Linked DNA regions of Homo sapiens: region 1 is linked to region 2. The links are contacts of gene promoters, found by promoter capture Hi-C in blood cells and fetal thymus (Javierre and others, 2016). All regions are on one chromosome and are shown on one strand. Each heading gives the region's core, a stretch centred on a gene start or on the middle of the fragment in contact. The rest is flanking DNA. Distances are from core to core; before and after follow the strand shown.

The links. Contacts are between HindIII fragments. The CHiCAGO score rates a contact against its expected background, and 5 or more counts as called.
Region 1: a fragment that was not itself captured here is called in contact with the fragment with the promoter of SDR9C7 in region 2 in 5 of 17 cell types (M2 macrophages, M1 macrophages, megakaryocytes and 2 more); the score reaches 9.3 in M2 macrophages.

Annotation. Positions count from the first base shown.
Region 1 is chr12:56,987,313-56,990,012 of GRCh38, forward strand. The region is part of intron 2 of LOC124902945 (a long non-coding RNA gene); the gene reads right to left. Among named protein-coding and RNA genes, the nearest start is that of ACKR5, 5.8 kb to the right of the region's middle. The HindIII fragment of the contact is 313 bases long and covers 1,244-1,556 here.
Region 2 is chr12:56,932,987-56,935,686 of GRCh38, forward strand. SDR9C7 (short chain dehydrogenase/reductase family 9C member 7) reads right to left here and starts at 1,422. Exons shown (of 4, transcript NM_148897.3): 1 at 975-1,422. The coding sequence starts at 1,275. The HindIII fragment of the contact is 2,217 bases long and covers 1-2,021 here.

The DNA.
Region 1 (2,700 bases), core at 150-2,649, 54 kb after region 2:
TCCAAAACCTTGCCCAAGCAGGGAAGGATATGAACCCTAGTAACTGTAAAGGTATTACTTCAGTTTGTATCAGGGTGTTGATGGACAGGAGGGATCTCCTTCTCAGGAGACTACAGAAAGGGGTACAGACTGGACCTCTGCTGTCCATGGAGGGTCCCTCGGTGTGAGGTCGAGGAAACTATTTCATAACTGGTGGGCAGGATGTAGAGGGGCAGGGAGCTGGGGGAGTAGGTGTGGGACAGAATAATCCAGGGTTTATTTGCACTGGGCCTCTCTCCCACTGTCCATGTTTGCCCAATTTCTGTCCCCTAATTGAAGGAAGAAGTGGAGATGGACTGGGAGGGGGAAGGAGAGGTTTCCTGCAGAAACCAGAGGCTAGCAAAGAGCCGCGCGCCCCCTGGTGGTTCTTCTCTAGCCCTGCAGTCACGACGTGGGCATCGGCCTGGGATCAGCCAAGGCTCTTCAGCTCATCCCAATGGCCACTCTCTCCAGCATCGGGGAGCCCCCATATCTCCCTGCACGGATCCTCCAAGAAGGAGGGAAACAGCAAGACTGCTGGCTGGTAAGAGACTGGACTACTGTTAATTAAGCAACATGGATGGTGCCTTGAGTGTGCTGCATACTAGAGGTTTGACAGACTCGGAGCCCCTTGAGGGCTCCGAGACTGAGTCCAGTCATTTTTGTATTTCCAGCCCCGGCAGTGCTAGCTTCTAGCAGAGATGAAGGAATGTTGAGGTAGCTGACACTGCAACATCTGGCTTCGCTTTCCATTTTCATCACTATTTCTTACATCATGCGACAATATGAGATTTCCTAAAGCCTCCATTTTTCTCATCTTTATAACGAGGGAGGAGAATCAAGATGACTTTGTCAAGTCCTCCCATCTCCAATTTCAGGGAGTCTAAGAATCCATATGCCTTTATTAAAATGGTGAAAACTTAGAAAGATGGGGTCTTGGGAAGCACTGGAGAATTTCTGACCAGCATACATTAGGTGCTCAACAAAAGTTAACAGAAACGGAAGAAATCTGGAACCAACAAGAGACTTACCACATCTACAGAGAGGCTGGGGGAGGGGTGCAGATCAGGAGATGGGAGAGTGAGGGAGAAACAGAAGCTGGGAGAGATAGGAGACCAAAGGAAGGGGGAAGGGTGGCGGCATGCGGGGAGGCTGCTAGTGCTGTAGGCGGCAGAGGGATATTAATAGTACCTGGGGCCCTTCCAGTCTCTTATCAGTCTTTTCAAGCTTCCTCTTCCTTAGACTGATGTCACACCCTCCCTTCTCACACTTGGGAAATCACAGAGGAAACAGTTGTCCTTCATCTAGTGAAAGATAGGGAATGGGAAGCAAAGACATTCACTTTCCCCTTTTCAAATCCCTCCGAGATCATCCTACAAATCCCTCAGCCTTCATGAAGGAGACACCTCCTTCCTCATGCAAGAAATTTCCTAGAATTCCCAGGGCTGAGTCAGCTCCACACAAGTGGATACCCAACATTGCTGTTTTTATCCTGACCCCAGTCTAGCAGAAGCTCTCCAAGGGTCATTTTTTTTTAAAGCTTTTGGACATCATGGGCCCCTTCGAGAATCTAAGGAAGGTTATAAGCCCCCCACATAACACAACAATCAAAAACTTGCTTATACTTTTCATACAGTTCACACCTAAAACCATTAGCTGCATGGAATCCAGCTCAAGAATCCTTGTAATATGGGCTTATTGACCTACTAGCTGTGTGACTGGGGCAAGTTATTTAAAGTTTCTGTGCTTCAGTTTCCTTGTCGATGGTAGTACCCACTCCATGAAGTTGTTATGAGGATTAAATGAGGTGATATGGATAAAGCCCCTTACAACTGTGTCTAGCCAATGGTGCGTATTCAATAAACATCAGCTGTTACTATTACTACATTTCTCTGTGGTAATTCATAGTGACATTTGGGAATGTTCCCACCCTTCTATGTAAAAAACACAACCCAAGACAGCCAAATAAAAGAGGAGGCTCATGTTGATCTAATTCAGAGAGGAAAAAAATGGCTGGTGGTAATAGGACTAGAGAGGTCTCTCAGTGTCAATTCCACAAGATGGGATTCCTTTTTCCTTATCCCCATGAAGTGGAAAAGGAGCATGCTTGTATATATTATCTCATGTATCCCATATAATAACCTGTAAGGGAAGCATCATTATCCTCACTTTACATATTAAGAAACTGACATTAAACTCCTATCTCTCACCAGACACAAAAATCAACTCAAGATGGATTAAAGACTTACATATAAGACCCAAAACTATTATTAAATTATTAGAAGAAAATCTAGTATTGCAGGAAAAATCTACTATCTAGTATAAGGAAAAGTCTCCTGGACATTGGACTAGGCAAAGAATTTATGACTAAGATCTCAGAAGCACAGGCAACAAAAACAAAAATAAACAACTGGGACTTAACTAAACTAAAAAGCTCTGCACAACAAAAGAAATAAGCAACAGAATGAACAACCCGCAGAACTGGAGAAAATATTTGTAAACTATTCATCTGACAGGGGAGATATCCAAAATATACAAAGAACTCGAGCAAGAAAAAAAAAAACCCCACAAATAATCCCACTAAAATGTGGGCAAATGACATGAATAGACATTTTTCAAAAGAAGACATTTTTCAAAAGACATTTTTCAAATGGCCAACAGATATATGAAAAAATGCTCAAC
Region 2 (2,700 bases), core at 172-2,671:
CTTCTGCAACTCAGCCATCCTGTTCCTCCTGTTCCTGGGCCCACACCCTGTGTGCTGGAAGTGCATGAGGCAGGTCCCCACACAGTCCTGGGCCAGCCCCAGTCCACAGCTTCCTTTCCCAATAGGAGCAGCCACTGTGACATACATACTTGCCCTGAAGTCAAATCAACACCCACCATGATGTCAAGAAGAGACCAGATCTCTTTCTCCCCTGCCTGACATAGTCAAGGAGACAAACTGCACCCACTCATGGGATCCAGCCTCCTGTCTCATTCCCCCTCCCCCATCCTGATCCCAACAAGAAATGTGTTTGTATTTCCCCAGGAGCTGATGGTTAGGACTGCTGAAACATCAGAGAGGCACATCCTTTTTTTTTCTTTTTTTTCTTTTTGAGAGGGATTCTTGCTCTGTCACGAGGCTGGAGTGCAGTGGCGCAATCTTGGCTCACTGCAACCTCCGCCTCCCGGGTTCAAGTGATTCTCCTGCCTCAGCCTCCTGAGTAGCTGGGACTACAGGCACGTGCCACCACACCCAGGTAATTTTTATACTTTTTAGTAGAGATGGGGTTTCACCATGTTGGCCGGGATGGTCTCGATCTCTTGACCTCATGATCCTCCCACTTCGGCCTTCCAAAGTGCTGGGCTCATAGGCGTGAGCCACCACGCCCAGCCAGGCACGTCCATTTTTAGAGGTTTGGACACACAGAACACATCTTCCCCCCTCGCTTCCTATTGAGACCTCTTTCCCGTTTCTCTGAGTTTCCAGGACAGAAAACTTCCTTGGGAAATCACCCCTTCATGTGAACAGGCCAAACCATGCAGTGGCTTCCAATCAGATTGAGGCAGGGGCCTTTCCCTACATCACCCCTCCCACCCAATCTGGACATCAGGGTCTCTGATACTGTCAGATGCTTCGGGAGAGAGGAAGAGGAAGAAGGAGAAACCAAGAAAGCCAAAGAATGTAATTCGCCCCACCTTGTTCGCCCACTTTGTCCCTCACCCACTGGGCCGCCGCCTTGATGCTTTCGCTCTTGGTGACATCCAGTAGGGTGGTCTGCAGCCGATAGGAGGTATCCCGCTGAAGTTTCTGGGATCCCTCCTCAGTGAAGCAAGCAGCCAGCACCTGCATGCCCCGATCAACCAGCTGTTTGGCCAGCAGGTTCCCGAAGCCAGAGTCACAGCCTGTGATGAAGACGTACTTCTCTGAGAGGTTGCCAACCAGATTGCAGTTCTTGAACCAGCGATACATAAATGAGAGGTCTGTGAGGGCCGCCATAGGGCAAGGGGAATGTGATGGCCAAGAGGGACTGGGCTCAGGAGACAGCAGGGAAGAAGCTGGTCCTCTGAGCCCTAGCAGGCAGTCTGCAGGAAACCACCTGGAAGAAGAACTCTCCTTCCTCCCACAGCTTGCAACAAATCTAGGTCCCTGGGTGAGCCACGCTGTAATTTTTATAGGTGGATGCATCACCACAGCAATTAGCCCAGATGCAAGAAATTCAAGTCCAACCTGAAGCCTTGTCACCTCTGACAGCCCTGGTAGCTGCCTCCCTCTCTCCCCCTGCCCTGATGGGTAAAGCTGCCAAGAATTGGAAATAATCCACTTGTAATGTTGGTGATGAGTGGTGGCTCACCCAGGCGGTGTAAGGCAGGCAAATGAAAGATGAGGACTCACCCCAGACAGCTCCCCTAGAAATCCTGTCCCCACCCTGCCCCCAACCCAGCCTGGGGATTTTGGTCTCCAGGGATCAAAATCATTTGTCGTGAGTGCAGGTATGTAAATAAGTTTATTTTCAGGGAAAATACTCAAGACAAATTTATTAATGTAAAACAAACAACATTGGTTCTGTACCTTCCAAACCCCAAGAGAAACAAGTCGCAGGTCATCAGCTCTCTGGAATTCTTAGGTAAGTCTCCATCATGAGAGAGGATGAAAAGCAATGGATTTCTCCTAGGGTGGATGTACCTCCATTGTCCTGAGGCTAGAGGCAGCAGGGCCCTCCTATAGGGGAGGCTGGCATGTGAAGCTTAGCCACCAGAAAGCAGAAAGACCTGGGGGACTCAGGCCTGACACCCTGTGGGGGTCATACTCAGGTCACCAGTAAGCAGCCCTGGGCAAGATGATGAGGAGGGATCATGAGTTCACTGGGCAGCTGAGGGAATTGTCTGGGCAGAGGCCTTGACTGTAAGAGGGGATGAGATATAGGAGGAGCAGAGAACTGGGGCCAGAGACATAGAAAATTCTCAGGGTCGGGACTTGGAGGAGAAACAGAGATTCTAGGCAATTTAGCAAATAATTTACAGAAAGCTAAGAGGTAAGGTGGTAAAGGAAAGGAAATAAGGAAACCAGAGGTGTGAGTAGTGAGGGGCCACACCCAGAATTGCATAAGATGCAGGGAATGATGCTGGAGCCTCTGTGGTTCTTTGGATCAACATCTAGGGTCACCATTCCTTGGGATGAGCCTGGTCCTAGCTCACACCTTCATGGCTTAGCGAGTCTGACACAGAAATGGGACCACAAAGTTCTCTAGTGTGAAGGGACAAAGGATGTATCTCTGTGATCCACCATTTGCCAAGTCTGACCAGCGTGGAATCACATAAAGCAGGTGTCACCCTGGGAAAGCCCCGCAGGGTTTGGCCGTTCCTTAACAAAGTAGGGGAGGGGGCCAGATTATGAACCCACCCCCAAAGAGCAGACCTAAAG